Regions from separate parts of the Homo sapiens genome. Here regions 1, 2, 3, 4, 5 and 7 are each linked to region 6. The links are contacts of gene promoters, found by promoter capture Hi-C in blood cells and fetal thymus (Javierre and others, 2016). All regions are on one chromosome and are shown on one strand. Each heading gives the region's core, a stretch centred on a gene start or on the middle of the fragment in contact. The rest is flanking DNA. Distances are from core to core; before and after follow the strand shown. Region 1 holds the start of TRIM33 (tripartite motif containing 33). Region 2 has its middle 130 kb from the start of SYT6. Region 3 holds the start of BCL2L15 (BCL2 like 15). Region 4 overlaps RSBN1 (round spermatid basic protein 1). Region 5 overlaps RSBN1 (round spermatid basic protein 1). Region 6 holds the start of RHOC (ras homolog family member C). Region 7 overlaps HIPK1 (homeodomain interacting protein kinase 1).

The links. The method cuts DNA at HindIII sites, captures the fragments that hold promoters and counts their contacts. A CHiCAGO score of 5 or more calls a contact.
Region 1: the fragment with the promoter of TRIM33 here is called in contact with the fragment with the promoter of RHOC in region 6 in 5 of 17 cell types (total CD4 T cells, fetal thymus, non-activated CD4 T cells and 2 more); the score reaches 6.8 in total CD4 T cells.
Region 2: a contact is called between a fragment that was not itself captured here and the fragment with the promoter of RHOC in region 6, in 1 of 17 cell types (neutrophils). The highest score is 5.2, in neutrophils.
Region 3: the fragment with the promoter of BCL2L15 here is called in contact with the fragment with the promoter of RHOC in region 6 in 1 of 17 cell types (activated CD4 T cells); the score reaches 5.1 in activated CD4 T cells.
Region 4: a contact is called between a fragment that was not itself captured here and the fragment with the promoter of RHOC in region 6, in 2 of 17 cell types (total B cells and total CD8 T cells). The highest score is 8.7, in total B cells.
Region 5: a fragment that was not itself captured here is called in contact with the fragment with the promoter of RHOC in region 6 in 6 of 17 cell types (total CD8 T cells, naive CD8 T cells, total CD4 T cells and 3 more); the score reaches 7.4 in total CD8 T cells.
Region 7: a fragment that was not itself captured here is called in contact with the fragment with the promoter of RHOC in region 6 in 1 of 17 cell types (naive CD4 T cells); the score reaches 6.8 in naive CD4 T cells.

The regions. Positions count from the first base shown.
Region 1 is chr1:114,509,892-114,512,591 of GRCh38, forward strand. It overlaps TRIM33 (tripartite motif containing 33), which reads right to left and starts at 1,312. Exons shown (of 20, transcript NM_015906.4): 1 at 660-1,312. The coding sequence starts at 1,185. LOC124904348 (a long non-coding RNA gene) reads left to right here and starts at 1,447. Exons shown (of 2, transcript XR_007066452.1): 1 at 1,447-2,034. RefSeq lists silencers at 849-1,148, 1,179-1,288 and enhancers at 1,479-1,648, 2,509-2,700. The HindIII fragment of the contact is 2,747 bases long and covers 1-2,148 here.
Region 2 is chr1:114,285,142-114,287,841 of GRCh38, forward strand. No RefSeq gene overlaps it. Among named protein-coding and RNA genes, the nearest start is that of SYT6, 130 kb to the left of the region's middle. The HindIII fragment of the contact is 3,020 bases long and covers 1-2,700 here.
Region 3 is chr1:113,886,155-113,888,854 of GRCh38, forward strand. It overlaps BCL2L15 (BCL2 like 15), which reads right to left and starts at 1,427. Exons shown (of 4, transcript NM_001010922.3): 1 at 1,095-1,427; 2 at 383-504. The coding sequence starts at 1,221. The region is part of intron 3 of AP4B1-AS1 (AP4B1 antisense RNA 1); the gene reads left to right. The HindIII fragment of the contact is 1,067 bases long and covers 703-1,769 here.
Region 4 is chr1:113,806,639-113,809,338 of GRCh38, forward strand. All of the region lies in intron 1 of RSBN1 (round spermatid basic protein 1), which reads right to left. Among named protein-coding and RNA genes, the nearest start is that of RSBN1, 4.5 kb to the right of the region's middle. The HindIII fragment of the contact is 4,202 bases long and covers 1-2,700 here.
Region 5 is chr1:113,781,744-113,784,443 of GRCh38, forward strand. All of the region lies in intron 2 of RSBN1 (round spermatid basic protein 1), which reads right to left. Among named protein-coding and RNA genes, the nearest start is that of PHTF1, 24 kb to the left of the region's middle. The HindIII fragment of the contact is 4,937 bases long and covers 1-2,700 here.
Region 6 is chr1:112,705,787-112,708,486 of GRCh38, forward strand. RHOC (ras homolog family member C) reads right to left here and starts at 1,341. Exons shown (of 6, transcript NM_175744.5): 1 at 1,292-1,341. RefSeq lists a silencer at 1,061-1,780. The HindIII fragment of the contact is 12,151 bases long and covers 1-2,700 here.
Region 7 is chr1:113,957,299-113,959,998 of GRCh38, forward strand. It overlaps HIPK1 (homeodomain interacting protein kinase 1), which reads left to right. Exons shown (of 16, transcript NM_198268.3): 8 at 768-993. Among named protein-coding and RNA genes, the nearest start is that of OLFML3, 21 kb to the right of the region's middle. The HindIII fragment of the contact is 1,984 bases long and covers 423-2,406 here.

The DNA of each region.
Region 1 (2,700 bases), core at 62-2,561, 1.8 Mb after region 6:
CCCAGCTTTCCCTAACTCTCAATTTCCTTCAAAGTTCATTTCTCCTTCATCCCCAAACCTTAGGATTTTCCCTAACCATGCAGTCCACTTTCCGAGTTTCTCTTTCCCCATGTCATCTTACAATTTTCTTCCAGGCGCCTTCTCTGGACCCCTTGCTCTCCAACATATTCTCTCCACCTCCATTTAATCCATAGTCCTCCTCTCTCCTATCTGTGAACACGCCAAGTCCCCTCCCTCCAAAGCAATCCATCTTCACTGCCCTTACCTCTTACCTACTCCCTCAACACCTCGCTGGCCCGGGCCCTTTCAGCCAAAACGCTTCCTCACAACGTGTTTCCCAAATCCCCCTTCTCTCACTGTACGGGTCTGCCAGCTCCAGAACCAGCGCTCGGCCGGGTTCCGCACATCACAAACCCTCCCTCGGAGCCAGTGTCCCCTCCCCCAGCCTCTCGCAGCCGGCACCCCTCCCTTCATGCTCCCCTTATCTCTTGCGGTCCAGCTTCTCTGGAAAGTGTCCCAGGGGCGAGTCTTTCACCTTAGAGACCCCTCGGGATGGCGCCCGTCCGAGCAGCCCCAGGCCCCAGCACCTCCGTCCCCAGCTCCTCTAGGGTTGCGCAAATCCCTTGCGGCCCAGATGCCAGGCAGGGCCTCCGGCTCACCTTGCTGGATGTCGCCGTTGCTGCCCCCCGGGATGGGCACGCTGAGCTGGCGCTCCGGCTCGGGCAGGCAGCGCAGGCAGAAGGAGTGAAGACAGGGCAGCAGCTTGGGCTCCGCCTCACGCCGGCTCTGCAAGCTCTGCTGACACACGGCGCAGGTGTCCAGGAGCGAGGCTGGCGGTCCAGGAGGCGGCCCTGCCGAGGGACCCGGAGCGGGAGCCGAGGCTGGAGCTGGAGCCGGCGTCGATACTGCGCCCCCGGCAACTCCAGTGCCCACTGAGGCCGCAGGAGATGAAGCAGCCTGGGCCGAGCCCGAGGAGGCCGCGGCCACCCCCCCGTCGTCGGGCCCGGCCGCGCCGCCCTCAGCGCCGGCCCTGCCGCCTTCCTCCTCCTCCTCCTCCACCAGCACCGCGGTGAGAGGCGGCTCCGCCTCCTGCGCGGCGGGCCCGGCGGCCCCGGCAGTTACCGGCGCGCTGCCGCTGCCCCCGCCGCCGCTCTCAGCCTCGCCGCCGCCTTTGTTTTCCGCCATGTTTTCCTCTTTGAACCCGCCGGACCGCCCCGCGCCGCCCGCCGCCCGCGTCGCCGCCGCCGCCGCCCCCAGCCCCAGCCGCAGCCGCAGCAAGAGCGGCAGCCGAGAGCTAGCGAGAGAGCGAACCAACGAGAGCGCGCGCGCACGCGGCGCCCCCGCCCTCGCGTCGCGCGTTTGAAGGAGGGCGGTTGCGGCACGCGCACGTACGCACGGACGTCCTCCCGAGGGAGGCGGGAACTCGGTTCGCGGGCGCGGAGCGGTCCCGGACCCTCGAAGCCAGTTCCTTGCGTCAGTGCCGCGGCTCTTTAACCCGAAGGGAGATTTTTTTTTTAAAGCCAGAGGCCGTTGACGCTGGGTAGCCTTTGGCTGGGGTTGGTTATGAACTCCGACACAGCGGTGGTGCATACGGAAGGGTGGTAGCCGGGACGGTTCCGGTCCCTGCGAGCGTGTCCCGGGCGTCTCCGCGGAAGTTTCACCTGCCGCGCCGCTCGATCGCCGGGACCTCCTGGGTCTCTGCTGTGCGTAGACCAGCCGCGTTCCTTTGGGTGGCCGTGGAGCACTAAAGCGGGGCTTATTGTTTGTTTGGTTTTGGTTTTTTTTTTTGTTTTTTTTTTGCTTTTTGTTTTTGAACTGAGGATCTATCAGAAATAGGCTGAAAAGACCGAGTGAGGAAGAAACTCTTTAACAGCTATTTTTGGCATCTTAAGGTGATTCTCAGGAGTTGCTACGTATCAGAATCAACGGAGGAGTTTTTCAAAGCAGAGATGCCAGGGCCAGTCCCCAGACCTGAATCAGGAAGTGAGGGAGAGAGCCGACGGAGGGGGAAAAGTCCCTTCAGCTGATTCTTATGTATGTCAGTTTGGAGAGCCACGGATATAACCAATACTGCGTCCTTCTGAGGTCCCACTTTAAGTGTCCTGGGTTGAGCTGGGTGACAAATGCCCTTACAACAATGGTAGTAGAAGCTTTCAGGCCAAGCGCAGTGGCTCACGCCTGTAATCCCAGCACTTTGGGAGGCCGAGGCGGGCAGATCACTTGAGGTCAGGTCAGGAGTTCGTGGGCAGCCTGGCCAATATGGTGAAACCCCGTCTCTACTAAAAATATAAAAATTAGCCGGGTGTAATGGCGTGCGCCTGTAATCCGAGCTACTCAGGAGGCTGAGGCAGGAGAATGGCTTGAACCCGGCAGGAGGCGGAGGCTGCAGTGAGCCGAGATAGCGCCACTACACTCCAGCCTGGGCGACAGAGCGAAACTCCGTCTCAAAAAAAAAAGAAAAGCTTTCAGAAAGTTGCCTTTTTATTTGAAAAAAAAAAAAAGGTATTTGGAGGATTTTATGTAGTGCAACAACTGTTTTAGTGTTAAGATCATGAAATGCTTTGGTCTCCTGTTAGTGTTCCCAAGAAAGGTGCTGTAAGTCCTTAAACCACGTGAAAACTTTTTTTTTTTTTGAGACCTCCTCGTTCTGTCGCCCTGGCTGGAGTGCAGTGGCGTCATCACATTTCATTGCAGCCTCGA
Region 2 (2,700 bases), core at 92-2,591, 1.6 Mb after region 6:
AACATTTGGAACTAGAGGTGAAACTAGGTATTCTCCTTTAGAGGAGAATAGTGTATAGTGTTTGCTGGTCCAGAGATCTGAGATGGTGCAGCCAGTGGGAAGGAGGAATAGCATGGACTTTTGCAGTCAAGTTATTGACTTTGAAAAAGGTCTTAAATTTTCTGAACTTAGTTCTTTCATCCACAAAATTGTGTTATTGATATATACTTTACATCATTTTAATGAATACAGGAGATTATGTAAGATTATAAAATCCTAACTAGTGCATGGCACACAGTAGGCATTAAGCAAATGTTAATTCTTCTATCAATGTCTATTATGGCTATTAAGAAAAGGGGAGAGGGACAAGATATTGAGATCCCACTAAGTGCCAGGCACTCTCCTGAATCCTGTGCTTACATCATGTTCTCACAACTCGGTATTACTGTGCAAATACCCACTGCACAGATGAGGCCCACAACAGCTAAGTGACTTGCCCAAGATCACGGCAACATGTGACAGAGCTGGTGTTCGAGTCCAAATCTGTCTGCTCCCAAATCCCATTTCTATAAACTATATTTAAGTTGTTCTACTTAGAATAAATTGTATGAGGTCCCGTTATTTTCTGGAGGGAGAAGTGCCAACCCTCTAAGTAGGTGTGGTCAAAGTCCAATTTTACATTAGCCATGAAGTTCTCTCCCATTATTCAGCTGGGGACTGAATATAAGTAAATAATGCTTGATAATAACAGTAGCTCACATTTTTTGACAACTTACTATGTATCAGGCCAAGTGCATTAGACTATAGGATTCTCATTTCATTTTCAAGAAGTCCAAGAAGTGGGCATTATTATTATCCTCATTTTACAAATGAGAAAACGGACATACAATGAAGCTAAGTAACGTGTCCAAACAGCAGAGCCCGGTTTGAGCGACTCGCCACTGAACTACCCACCACCCTGGAAAGATGCATCTTGAGGCAAGGAGCTGGTAGCCAGCCATGCAGTTCTCCCTCTGAATTCCTCTAGGAACTAAGCAGCACCTGTTCACAAGGTCCCAGGGGTGCCCATTCTCAGAGGTCTGTTCTCACTCCTCACCTTCTGAGACCCAGAGGTGGTGGTGAAAGCCCCTAACCTGTGAGGAAGAGGCTCATCCCTAGGTTTGGCCTTACAAAGACAGCAAAGGGCCAGGTCATTGGGAGCCTCTGAACTTGGGGTCAAGGCAAGCAGCAGGCTCAGAGGCCAAGGAAGGGAGCCCAGCAGGGGAGGCTGCAGGAAAAAGAATTTGATTGAGGCAAGATTTATTCACATGCTCTAAAGGAACATTTCTTAAACTTTCTGCGACCATGACTCACCAAGCAACACTGTTACATGTGGAGTAGCTATGCAGATTTTCTTCCACCAAAAGAAAAATCATTGTCAGATTAAGAAAAGACACAAACAAAAATAATACATATGGGCGACAGGAAACTTTATAAGTTAAATTTCACAACATGAAGAAAAGATTTTATAAAACTACATTTCAGTATTTTCCACTATTGTACAGTATAAAATGGTTATTTGTTATAAAATATGATTTATTTTTGCAAAGGCTCACAGCACACAGGACAGCTTTTCAGAGAACATCAGCATTCTGATAGTGTTGTTTAAGAAATGCAGCTTGTAAGTGAATAAGCAACAAGCCCTTGATCTTAGGTCTATACACACTAGCCACCTGGTTCTGATGCAGGACAGGCAAGCCCCAAAATTGGGGCTTAGCCCAAGGTTTTTGGCCCCATCCAGGAAAGAATTCAAAGGTGAGCTGGTGGTGTTAAACAGCAGCTTTTATTGAAGCAGCAGTGTATAGCAGCAGCAGCGAAGCAGGACTACCCCACAGGCAGTGTGTCCAGAGTAGCAGCTCAGAGGCAGTTCTGCCATCATTTTCGTACCCACTTTCAATTATATGCAAAGTAAGAGGCAGTTTATGCAGAAATTTCTAGGATGAGGGTAGTAGCCTCTGTGGAGTTGTCACCACAGCAAGGGGTGATAACTTTCAGGTGTTGCCATGGCAATGGTAAGCTGACATGGCATACTGGTTTTCATGTCTTATGGAGAAGTGCTTCCACACTGCACCTGTTTTAGGTAGTCCTCAATTTGGTCCTGTGTCTGAGCCCCACCTCCAGAGTCTAGTCCCACCTGCTACCTCAGTTCTGCCCAAATGACAGTGAATATTAACTTAAAGGTCCGAGACTTGTTAAAGCAGTGCTAGGTCCCTAAAACAGAGGCCTTCAATTTTTTAAAAAATCATATAACCGTAGCAGCAAAAATGTTGAACATACACTCCAATATAGTGTATTTACTTATCTATATTATTATCTTATTATATTGATGCATTTCTATTATTAGCCAATGTCTCAAGGCTTCATATACACTTAGGATGAGGTTTATCACAAATGCCAATGGAAGTAAAGGCACTGTCCCCTTGATAACTTCTAAACTTGTTTTTGTCAACATCTTGTCTGATCTGATTAGATTGTTATGGTTTCTAACCTCATGATATGTCTGACAATGAGCTTCTTTTGAATTAGGGACAGTGCCATTTTCTTGTTGTTTATTTGCATTTGCATTGTGGGTGTTATCATCACACTCCTTTCTTTGTAGAGCTCTTCTTAAGCCACTCTGTTTTGTGAGGATTTGTTTAGTTAAGACTAAATAATCCAATTTGCCCATCCTCTCAAGTGGCA
Region 3 (2,700 bases), core at 177-2,676, 1.2 Mb after region 6:
GCAGTGAGCTGAGATCACACCACTGCACTTGAGCCTGGGTGACACAGTAAGACCCTGTCTGAAAAAAAAAAAAAAAAAAAAGATACTATACTTTGCCAAGAATAAAGTGTTATAAATGTGCTCTGTGCACACTAAGCACAACAGCTGTGATGAAGACCAAGTAGAGACAAACTGAAGGTTCATCAGCCTATGCCCAAAATTTTCCATCTCTGTACCACTTAGGTTTTAGCAATTGGAGAATTCTTGCTATACTTCCTTGAAATATAAGCACCCAAATATTTTCATAGAACATTCCTAGTCACTGTAGTATGGGAGTAGTAAGAAAAGGAAGTTTGAAATAGAAAAAAAAGCAGCAAACAATAGCATGAAGTAGAAACTTGACCTGTCCCTTAATGGTTTCTGCAATGACGTTTTTGGCAGAAGCTTCCAATTCTCCGTTGAACTGGTCACCCAACATCCGAAGGCGACCAGCAATGATAGCCACATCAAAAGAACAAGGCTCTCCTATGACAGAGGGAACACATTTGTTACAATGCTTGAAGCAATGGCAAGTCCCAGGAATCTGGGCAATGAGAAAAATTTGTCTTGTCTTTTAAATAATTTTCATATCATGATCTCCCAAGAGCTTAAATGTTCTGTCAACACCAATAGTCAGAAAGTTTCCCTTCATTGAGAACCTCTTTCGCTTTAGGTGTTACTGAAAGCTTAGAGTTTGCCTTTTGAAACTTAAAGGAAATAAATAAAATATACTGTTTTTTTTTTTTTGAGACCGAGTCTCTGTCGCCCAGACTGGAGTGCAGTGGCGTGATCTCAGCTCACTGCAACCTCCGCCTCCCAGGTTCAAGCAATTCTCATGCCTCAGTCTCCCATGTAGCTGGGACTGCAGGCATGAGCCACCACACCTGGCTAATTTTTCTACTTTTAGTAGAGATGGGGTTTCACCACGTTGGCCAGGCGGATCTCAAACCCCTGACTTCAGGTGATCCACCCACCTTGGCCTCCCAAAGTGCTGGGATTACGGGAATCAGTCACTGCGCCCGGCTGAAAACATACTCTTATTGACCTGCAATCACCGCCTAGGGCAGGAACCTTACCTGAATCTACTTCATCTACACAGCATAGGTTCCGGCTGGCAACCTGCAATGTTGGGCTCAAGAAGTCCATGAGTAGAGTGTTCACAATGCATTCCGTTTGTTCCTCAAAAGTTTGGGAGCTCTTCATTTTAGATGTTTGCTGTCAAGTTTTGCTTTTCCACGAAACAAGCAGTTTTCAGCCCAGCAGGAAGTTAAAAACACTGGTAAATCAACAAATGTTTCTACCTCTTGTAGTTTCCTGACATGTAATCCTGGAACTTTTCCCACTAGCTTTCTTCAAACACAGCTGCTCAGAAAGGTGGGACTTCTCAGAAGGATTACCTACTTGGAACTGGGGAGACTTTAAAGACTTTAGGTTCTCTATCTCAGACCACACCCTAACCACATAAAATTAATGCTTAACTTTTATCGTTAGGTAGCCAACCTAGAACTGAAATAGAGTTCAGGAAGAGCCTCTGGAGTAATTTTATTAAGAAATACTTCCTCGACTTCTTAGGTCCTGCACATGGTATAATTTGAAGGAAGGTTTTGAAGTTACAGTGGACCAGCGTTCAACTTCTGTTTATGGAATTTATTTGCCATAATCATATAATAATTACTTACTGAACAAGGAACTATAGTTGGCACTACAAGTAACATAGAAAAATGATACAGGCACAGTTACTGTGCTCATGAAGCTTACACTTCAGCAGAAATGACAGATATTAAATGAGTAATCGCATTGTTATTTGTGCTATTGAGATCAGTGCACTTTGATCAGTGAAGTGTAACAGGGAATCAAGCCTTTGATCAGTTTAATAGGGAAACAAACCTAGGGGACTGGGAAGGCTTCCTTAAAATAGTACCATCTGACATGAGCTCTGAGGAATAAGTAGGCATTCATTATGCAAAAAGGAGGCATAACACTATTCTAGGCGGAGAGGTAGCAGATATAAAGTCTGGGAAGGTTAAAAAAAAACAACTTGGAATTATAAATGGGGACAACAGAAAATATTTCATAGATAAATTATGAGGATTAAATAAGATAACATGCGGAATGGCCTAGCACTGTTTGGCATACAATAAATGTTAAATGTCCTCCTTTTAGCCCAAGACATAATGACCAGGAGGAAAGAGATCTGAGATTCTCTGTCTAGCAAAAGGATTTTCCTAACAGGGTTGGACTCCATCATTGTTTTAAGAGATCTCATGATTGGACACTTATCTGTAGTGGTTGCCTTCTTAACGTAGCTAAACCTAGATTTTGGGTCTGGGTCTCAGAAGCAGCCATCAAACCTATCAGCAAACTTACCACTCAACCTGTCTGACCTGGTGAAGTTATTAATATTAACAGCTCCAACTAATAAAAGAGTCAAGCATAGGCCGGGCATGGTGGCTCATACCTGTAATCCCAGCACTTTTGGGAGGCTGAGGCGGGCAGATAACCGGAGGTCAGGAGTTCACGACCAGCCTGGCCAACATGGCAAAACCCATCTCTACTAAAAAATACAAAAATGAACTGGGCGTGGTGGTGCATGCCTGTAATCCCAGCTACTAAGGAGGCTGAGGCATGAGAATCGCTTGAACCTGGGAGGCGGAGGTTGCGATGAGTCGATATTACGCCACT
Region 4 (2,700 bases), core at 185-2,684, 1.1 Mb after region 6:
AAAAAAAAACTTAGTAAATTGGATATCAACAAAATTTAAAATTTTTGCTCTGTGAAGTATCCCACTGAGAAGGTAGAAAGGACCAGGCACAGTGGCTCCTGTCTGTAATCCCAACACTTTGGTAGGCCAAGGCGGGAGGATCACTTAAGCCCAGGAGTTTGAGACCAGCCTGGACAACACAGAGAGACCCTGCCTCTATCAAAAAAAAAAAAAAAAAAAAAAACATTAGCCAGGTGTGGTGGTGCACACGTGTGGTCTCAGCTACTCAGGAGGTTGAGGTGGGAGGATCACTTGAGCCCCAGAGGTTGAGGCTAGAGTGAGCCATGATCACATCACTGTGCTGCAGCCTGGGTAACTGAGTGAGACCCTCCCCAAAAAAACAAAAACAAACAGGCTGGGCGTGGTGGCTCATGCCTGTAATCCCAGCACTTTGGGAGACCAAGGCGGGCGGATCACCTGAGGTCAGGAGTTCAAGACCAGCCTGACCAATATGGCGAAACCCCGTCTCTACTGAAAAACACAAAAATTAGCCGGGCATGGTGGCAGATGCCTGTAATCACAGCTACTCGGGAGGCTGACATAGGAGAATCGCCTGAACCCAAGAGGTGGAGGTTGCAGTGAGCCAGGATCGTGCTACTACACTCCAGCCTGGGTGACAAAGTGAGAATCCATCTCAAAAAAAAAAAAAAACAACCAAAATAAAAACAAGCAAACAAACAAAAAGGATGGAAAGACAAGCAACAGATTGGGAGAAAATATGTGCAAACCATACAAAGAAGCTGCACCTGTGATCTACAAAAAATTATCAAAACCCAGTAATAAAAAATATACAATTCAAGGGCCGGGCGCAGTGGCTCACGCCTGAAATCCCAGCACTTTGGGAGGCTGAGGCGGGTGGATCACCTGAGGTCAGGAGTTCGAGAACAGCCTGGCCAACACAGTGAAACCCCGTCTCTACTAAAAATATAAAAAAGTAGCTGGGTGTGGTGGCAGGCACCTGTAATCCCAGCGATTCGGGAGGCTGAGGCAGGAGAATCGCTTGAACCCGGGAGGCAGAGGTTGCAGTGAGCCGAGATTGCACCATTGCTCTCCAGCCTGGGCAACAAGAGTGAAATTCTGTCTCAAAAAAAAAAATTATATATATATATATATGTATATGTATACACACACACACACACACACACACACAAAATTCAATTAGAAAATAGGCAAAAGGTATAAAGAGACATTTTACTGACCAGGATATATAGACAGCAAATGATGATATGAAAAGATGTGTATTATCACTAGCCATTTGGGAAATGCAAATTAAGATCATGATGATGTATCACCACACGTCTATTAAAATTGCTAAAATAAAAATAGTGACAATACCAGATACTGGCAAGAATGTGGAGAAAATGGATTTCTCTTACACCGCTGACAGGAATGTAAAATGGTACCGACACTCCAGAAAATACTTTGGCAGTATCTTAAAAAACAAACAAACAAAATAAATATATATAGTCATCCTTGGTATCCATGGAGGATTGGTTCCAGAGCCTCCCAGGGCAACAAAATCCAAGATGATCAAGTCCTTCATATAAAATGGCATAATAATTGCTTATAACCTATGCACATCCTCCCCTATATTTTAAATCATCTCCAGATTATTTATACCTAATACAATGTACATGCTATATAAATAATTGTTATACTGTATTGTTTAGGGAACAGTGACAAGAAAAAAAAAGTCTGCACAAGTCCAGTACAGACAATGTTTTTTTGAAAATATTTTCAATCCCAGGTTGGCTGAATCCATTGATGTGGAACCCATGGATACAGAGGGCTAATTGTATTTACCATACGACCAAAGAAATGAAAAGTTACATGCACACAAAAACCTGAACACCAATTTTCATAGAAGCTCTATCTATAATAGCCAAAAACTAGAAATAATCAAAATGTCCTTTCTTATACGGGAATGATTCAATAGGTGAACCATGGTACATCCATACCATGGAACACTATTCGGCAATGAAAAAGAGGGATGGATCTCAGGGACATCACACTGAGTGAAAAAGGGCAATCTCCAAAGATCACATACTGTATGATTCAACTTATATAATAGTCTCAAAATGACAAAACAGGTTAGTGGCTGCCAGAGGACAGGGACAGTAGAGAGACAGAGGGAGTGCCTAAGGCTGTAAAGGGTTTGTGGTGGTGGAACAGTTCTGTATCTTGATTGTAGTGGTGGTTACACTAATCTACATATGATAAAATAGCATATAACTACATATACATTGTACCAATGTCAATTTCCTGGTGTTGATATTATACAATAGTTATGTAAGATGTAGCCACTGAGGGAAACTGGTAAAAGGTAAGGACTTGACTATGTTTGCAATTTCCTGTGAATCATTAATTATCTAAAAAAAAAAAACAGTTAAAATAGTTTCCAAAAATCTGAGGATAAGCGAAGGAAGGACATAGCTTTGTAAGTAACAAGAATCTGCCCACTCTCCTTATTAATCTTAGAGTTGTTTTAGGGACCATGCATAATAAAATAATAAAGGCCGGTTTTAAGTAAGTGCCTACAATGAGCCAGGCACTGCTGTAAGTACTTTCACACAATGCCCTATTTAATCCACACAAGTTCCTTATAAATGAAATACCACAACCCCATTTTATAGACAGGAAAAGTGCAGTTGAGAGAGGGTA
Region 5 (2,700 bases), core at 125-2,624, 1.1 Mb after region 6:
TTTTCTCAGGTCCTAAATCAGGAATTGATAAATCCCTCTTCCTCATCACTTAAATCAAAATCTATCCTTCTAACTAAATCTGCAGTACCACTGCCTTAATTCAGGAAATTATCATTTCTCACCTAATTGTAAAACCTCTTAACCAGTATCCTTGCTTCAGGATTCCTATCCCCAAGAGCCATCCTACATACTGCTACAAATAATCTAGGAAAAAACATCTTATCATTCAACCTTCCCATTTTAAATCCTTTAGTAGCTCCATATTACCTGTAGCATCAAACTAGAAAATCCTTTTTAAGGAAGACAAAGCCCCTCCTGATCTATTATTCCAAGGGAATAACAGACCAAGATTTGCCACATTCTCCACATTTGCCACATTCTAAATATACATTTCGCAAATTCTAAATAATTTCTGCTGCCTCCACAAGTTTTCACATGTTATTGTCCACCTTTACAACTCCTATATTTCCTTGATGGTATAAAATGACTCAAAATAAGGTTTCAAGCTCAAAGAACGAAAGTACATAACATTTACAGATTTTAGGTAAGTTAGATTTGGAGTTATAACTAGATCAAAAAAGGTAAGGAATAGATGCATAGATTTGGAAATTGTCTATAACATATAATTTTTTAAGTGACTAAGACTTGAGAGAAAGAATAGAAAGAGACAGAACCAAGAACTGCACTTAAAGGAAAACAGATATTTGACAGACAGGAGGAAGAGTTAGCTAAAGAAATTGTGAAAGGATGAGTTAAGAAGTAATGCAATTAAAATGATGTAAGAATAACGTTTCAAAAATGGTCAAGGACAACTATTTTTTAAGAAAAACAAACTGGCTGTTATGAATAGTGCTGCAATAAACATGGAAATGCAGATCTTCAACATACTGATTAAATTTCCTTGAGTTGGACATATACCAAGAAGTGGAATTGCTTGGTCATGTGGTCGTTCTATTTTTAATTTTTTAAGGAACATCCACACTGTTGACCATAATGTCTGTACTAATTTAGATTGACATTAACTGTATAAAAGTTCTCCTTTTTCCATATCCTCACCAGCATTTATTTTTTGTCTTTTTGTTAACAGCCAGAACTGGGGTGAGGTGATATCTAATTGTAGTTCTGACTTCCATTTCCCTGATGATGAATTATGTTGAACATTTTTTCATATACCTGTTGTATGTCTTCAAATTTCAGAATGTCTATTTAGGTCTTTTGCCCACTTTTAAATCAGATTATTTCGTTGTTGTTGTTATTGGGTTGTTTGAATTATTTACATAAATTTTAGGCCACAGGGCAGAAAATACTATCTGGTCCTTAATAGAAAAAGTTTGCCAACCCCCAATTTAAACCACTCACAAAAGAAATCAAGCAATATGTTTGAATACAAACTTTGTGAAAGAGAACAATCTGTATTATTCAATATTATATATCTGTAATACAAAGTGCCTGGTATGTAGTCATAAATATTTGTTGAATTTCTGTATGTTAAGGCTAGAAATGAAGTAATCAACCACAAACTCTGGCAAAAAGAAAAAAAAGGGGTGGAGGGGGAGAAGAAGAACTGCTGATTACCAGTCTATCACTTGCATTTAAAAATTTAATAAATGCAAATGTTTGTGATACATTTAAATAATTAACAGCATAACAATGAACAGCAGTTATGACCACAAATTCAACATGCACCAACTTTCAACCTGAAAAGGCTGACAAGAAAAAAAAAAAGAGAGAAAAAAATAGATAAAACAAAAAAACATTCACCAACTGTAGGAAACTAATGCCAAACAAGCAAAGTATTCCTTCTTTTTAGTAAGAAAATTTCCTGGGCATATGGCCAATAAGCTAGGCTCCCTGACAGCTAAATGCGGCCTGTGCCTAAGTTTGGGCCAATGAGACAGTCACATAAGTTACATATGCAATCTTCAGGGCATACCTTTATAAGGAAGTGGCTTGCCCTCCACTTCCTTTTTCTCTTTTGAGGGCTGCAACACAGAGTGGTAAAGAGCTAGTCTCAATCATGCACATGACAACACCAGTAGGAACGACAAAAATTAAAGACAGAAGGAAACTAGCATCCTGGATGACAACAAGGAACAGAGTTGCTTACCTCGGGACTGCTAAACAAGAGACAAACTTTTGTTCTAGCCACTGCACATTGGTCCTCATTGTTATGGTTTTTTAGCCTATACCTTGTATACTTTGTAATGAGGGAGGCAATATTCTGCATTGCACAGAGATATCATCTGGGGTGTGATCTCCCGATCTGGCCTAAAAAATATCTATAACTAGGGCACACCCAAAATAGAACATTTAAAGTGATTAGGGACTTGCAAACCATACAAAATGGAGGAAGAATGCAAGAAATCAAAAGTATTTCAAAAGTATTTAACTTGAAAAGATTAAAGGAGGGACACAACAGTCTTCAAATACTTGGAGGCCTGTAACATGAGTTACAGGAAAGCAGGTGTCATTCATTTACCACAAGTTTATTGTACAGTCATGTGTCACCTAATGACAGAAATACATTCTGAGAAATGTCATTAGGCAATTTGTGGTTGAGAACATCACAGCTTGTACTTACACAAATCTAAGTGGTATAGCCTACTACACACCTAGGCTATATGACATAGCCTATTGCTCCTAGGCTACAAAACTTACAGCATGTTATTGTACTGAATACTGTAGTCCAGTGGTCCCCAA
Region 6 (2,700 bases), core at 91-2,590:
TGGAGGGCAATCACTACTGGGGTGAAAGCCAGTCACTTAGGCATGAGTATGCCACTGCTGTCCCCCCAGCAGGGTAATTCAGACGGCACCAGAGTGGTGGGAGGCAGAGGACAGAAACCCGGGGTTGAGGCATGCGTTAAGGGACCTGGAGCCTCCAGCCCAATTAGAAGACTTTCCCTCCAGGCTATGATTGGGCCAGAACAGCAGGCAGCCCAGGCCAGGACACTAGGCCCAAGGCCAAGATGGCATGGACAACTCCCTGTGAGAGGCAGCCCCAGAGGGACTGTCCCACTGACCCCTTAAGAGGGGCAACTGAGCCCCACACAGGGCCTGGAATGGAGCCTGGAACTTCTGGGGCCTTCCCCAAGACAAGACAGTGTGGCTACATCAGACCTCTCTCCAATCGCTCTCTTGAATTCCCAGATGATCCAGAGCGGCCGGTTGACTTTGCCGGCCCACCCTACACCTAGGGAAGGAATCCGTTCTGGAGATACCAAGAGATACTGCATTCTCAACTTTAAAACCAGAGTGAGGGCGGGACTCGGCCTCGGGATCCCAGTCCCAAACCCCAGGATACTCTTTCTTGGTTCGAGTATGAAGAAGGAGGATTCTCAATCTCATTTTCTCTCTCTCTCTCTCTCTCTACACACACACACACACACACACACACACACACACCACACACACACACACACACACACACACACACACACACACACACACACACACACACACACACACACACACACACAGAGTTGGATCCTTCCCCATCTCCCTTATCCTCAACACAAGCGGGCTCCAGGAACCGTCCAGGGCGGCGTCCAGACCCTGCCGAGCAGTGGCAGGCCCCAATGGTCACATCCCGCCCCTATTCCCGCCATACCTCCCTCCTGGCCTGGAGGAATTCCCACCCCATCCCACTCTAGGTCCCCTGCGGCCGCCCACCCTGGGGGCTGGGGCGTCTGAGTTGAAGTTCCCTCGCCCCTCGCCCGGCGGGGCAGGTTCCGGGAAGCTGGGAGGAGAAGGGAAGGGGCTCCGACTCGGACCTCAGGAGGCCAGAGCCCCTGCCGGCAGGTCCGGGCCCCCTCGCTGCAGCCCGGGGAGGGGCCGACGCGGTCCGACCACCGCCCAGCCCGGATGCCGACTCCGCTTGGAGGGAACGGGGTCCACGCCCAGGCCGAAGCCCCTCCTCGCACGGGCCCCGATCTCCGGGCCAGCGAGGAAGGGAAAGTGCTCTCCTGGGGACGAGTTCCCAAGACGCCCCACCGCCCGCAGCCCCGGCCCAGGGTACCTTCCGCTCCGCCGCCTCCAGCTGCGCGGCCGGTGCCGGAGGCTCAGACTGACCCCAGGGCCCCGCCCCGCCCTCCTCCAGCGCCGCGGCGGGGAGGGCGGGCCCGGCAGGGGGAGGGTCGGCCGGGGGCGGCCCTTGGCTCGGCCCGCCCCGGCCCCGCGCAGGGCCGCAGCCACCGGCCCCCTCCGCAGGCCGGGGACTGGGGGCCAGGGGCGTCCACCCCTCCAGGTCGGGGAGAGCCACGGGGAGATTCCTGGACTGCGGAGGAGCCGGGCGAGCGGGGGGAGCACGACCCGGGTGGACTCAGACTCTGCCCAGCCTTCAATCCCCTAGGGGAGGACCGGCGTCGGGAAAGTTAAGAGGTGCTCGGGGTGGGGTCAGGAAGGGCCGCTGCTGCCCTCCTGTGGCCAAGCGGCCACCCGCTCCTGCTGCACCTGGGACCTCGCGGGAAGCGGGACTGGGAAAGGGTATCCGCCGGGAGGTCCCAGGGCCCGGCGCGGGTGTGTTGGTTGGGGGGAGATGTCCACCCTCTTGTTCCTAGGATCGTACAGCCCAACGTCATCCCCCAAACTTGAAGACCTCTCAGAGCCGTTCAGACCCAGACCACCGTTCCTCCTCACAATTCGCTTTCTTCCCTGGGCCTGGAATTTCCAGGAGTCCAATTCCTACCTACTCCTCAAAGGGTGCGCCTAGAAATGCTTCTGGATCCCAGCTGTGAATTCTGTTCCCACTCCTAGGTCTGACTTGGCGCATAGGATATTTACCTACACGCGTATCTCCTTTCCCTGTAAGGGAGCTGAGGAGGTGGGAGTAGAATGAGGACGTCCACCAACATTTCATTGGCTTGTGCTTGGGACACTACACAGCTTAACCCTTTCAATATTCATCACAGATCTCTGGGGAAAATATACCCATCCCCTTTTGCCCATAGAGAAGCTGAGGTTCAGAGAAATCAAGTGGCTTACACAACTGTTTTTGACTTGTGACAGCAAGAATTCACACAGCCGGGCCTGTCTGGCTCCAAACTGGTGGTCTGGCCCTGCTACCTCACGGGCTCCTCCAGCCTGTCCCTTCCCCCGTTGTCTAGCAGAGTGAGTGGCACATAATAGGTTGTCAACAAATATTTGATGAATGAATGAATGTTAGGAGTCATACAGACTTTAAATATCTGAAGTGCAATCCAGACATTTGACAAATGTGAAAACAGGTCCGCAGCAGTTTGGCCCCAGGCCTCTTAACTGACTCAATGAACATTTCTCGAGGGTGAACTGAGAGCTATGTTCGGAAGATCCATTTCTGCCTTCAAACAACTTAGAGTCTAAATGAGGAATGCAATTTCAAGATAGCTAACATTTATTGAATCCATATTACATGGACCTGGGTCCACATACATTAACTACAAGAATCCC
Region 7 (2,700 bases), core at 165-2,664, 1.3 Mb after region 6:
TAATTTTGGAAACTCAAGCTTAAGTGGGATAGAAACTAGTAAGAATACAGGGCAAGGTAAAGAACCAATTTTTGTTTTGGTGGTCTTGTTGCTTCTTAGAAATTCTCCACTTGACAAAAGTTGATGGAAAACAGGGTAGACTGATAATACTTACCAGGCACAGGCTAACTAAAGTTAAATATAAAGGCCTAATCCATGCCCTCATATGTTCAGCATCGTCAAATAAATGGGGTCTGACTATTATGCTACTTACTGCTGTTAGTTTTACTGACTTTAGCCAAATGACTTTCTCCCTGTTAGGAGAAGGATTTTATATCTCTTGTTACTGTATTGAAAGGTTTCCAGTCATTAACTTTAAGGGTGGTTTTGCATTTGTTTGCTAGCCAGTGATATTTGCATTTAGGTTTATTTCTGAAGATGTAAGCTTCCCAGTTTCTTGGCTGGGTCTACTTTTTTAATGGAAGAGCCTATGAGATTTGGTGGGATCTTCCATCCAGTAATTTTTTGTGCAGAAGTAGTTGGGGTTTGTGTAGCCACAGCCAACATAGGACCATTCGTTTTTTTTTTTTTATTTGCTTATTTGACCATATAATATGCCTTCAATTTAGGGACTAGGGAAGTTTCTTAAGCAGAGAGTTATTTCAGAGGCAGTTAACATTACATTTTAAAACATTATTCTACGTTTTTCTGGATAAATTCTGTATATATAAAATTATTGTGTGTCTCTACTTAATACAAGTGTACAAATATAATCCTTTTGTTTTTAGGCCAGTGTTCTAGCTTCCAGTTCTACTGCAGCAGCTGCTACTCTTTCTCTGGCTAATTCAGATGTCTCACTACTAAACTACCAGTCAGCTTTGTACCCATCATCTGCTGCACCAGTTCCTGGAGTTGCCCAGCAGGGTGTTTCCTTGCAGCCTGGAACCACCCAGATTTGCACTCAGACAGATCCATTCCAACAGACATTTATAGTATGTCCACCTGCGTTTCAAAGTAAGTGGGGAAACTCCTGTATCATATGGTATTGTATCAGACCTACCTGCTTTAGGCAGCTCTAGTTGTTTAGTTCTGATCTTTACAAGTTTAAACTCTGTCTCTGATGAAGAAGGTAACTAAAATTGGGTAATATCACAAAATGGATTTTCTCTTTTTACATAGGCTATTTATCTAATTATGATGCTATCTGATGCATTGTAAGAGCTCACTTTATGTTTCCTTAATTGAATTGCCTGATACCAGTTTTCTTGCCCATTGAGTCCTTGTGTCAATGTCGTACGTCTTGTATAAGCATGTATCTGTCAATATGCAAAATCTATACAACTTGAAAAAATTTGTTGTAAGCAGAATTGCTAAATATTGGATCTTATTGCCTATATCATTCTATTATAAAAATTATGTTCCCAATAAAAAGTGATTTTATTCTAAAATGTAAAAATCATGTTTAAGAATGTGGAAACATCTTAAATTACTTAAGGAAAGAAAAATCATTATTTATTGAACTAAAAAATCCTACAGGCTGAGGTGCTTGTGTGGGGCAGGCATTAAGATTATCTTCTTCAGCTTATGAATCATATAGTTCCTGCAAACTCCTGTCAACAGAGGAACAGAATAGCTGAAGGAGGAGGCGGAGTCCCTGTGTTGCAATAAGATTTTAATTTTCACATTCCCATCCTTCTTAATTTTCACATTGTTGTTCTGTAATCTAGTCTGTCCAGTTTCTTTTTTCTGTATATGGGAAATGTGTGTTTAATCATTTGGTAAGCCATTTAGAAGAATGTTACTTTAAGGCTAAAATCTAATGACACATTTGACTTTCCCAAGAGAAGGTCAGTGTCAGTACCCTGTGAGAATAAACCAGGATTCAGGTATTTCATATAACACTTTACATAGAAGCAGGTAGCATTTTTGCCTTTTTACATCAATTACTTATTGACCGTGACTCTCTTGTTTGTTTGGTTTCTGATAGAGTCGGAGCAAGCAGAAGGAAAAGAGGGGCTAGGGGGGTCAGAGAGATTACCAGGAGGACAGGAGAGCAATAGCGATATAAACCAGGGAGAAACCACAGGGAGAGCAGAGGGACAGATTCAAAATCCGTAAATGCACGTTTAGCCTAACTTACCAAATTATTTTCTGCATATGCTTCATAATAGTAAATTCTGTAGTTGGGATTGTCGTATGTTGAGTGATTCTTCCACAGAGCTTAGCAGATTAGCCACTTTTTTCACCACTTTTTCCGAAGAGTTTCATTGGAACAGTTTTCAGATGTGGGACCCTGAAGTTTTCTGCTGCTTCTCAGATGATACAAGATGAAGCAGAAGAACTTTTGAGTTCCTTTAACAAAACAAAATGTAAACTAATGAAGTTAGAGGGGAAAAGTGGGATAACCCTTTTTAGTATAATTAGGTAAGCTTTGAAATTTTTCCTATCTAGGAAGTATAAATAACCTGAGGAGTTATTAGAGCATACTTAAAATTTTCCAAATGAAAAAGGAGTTTTAAAATTAAGGTGATGATGATGATGCCTGATATGTATTACTATATGCCAGATAATGTTCCAAGTGCTTTTACATGTATTAATTTATCTTCACTAACAATTCTAGGAGGTAGGGTAATGTCATTATCCCCAATTTATAGATGAGAATTTTGAGCATGGTTCCTTCATATGCCCAAAGTCCTATAACTAATTATTGCAGAACCATGA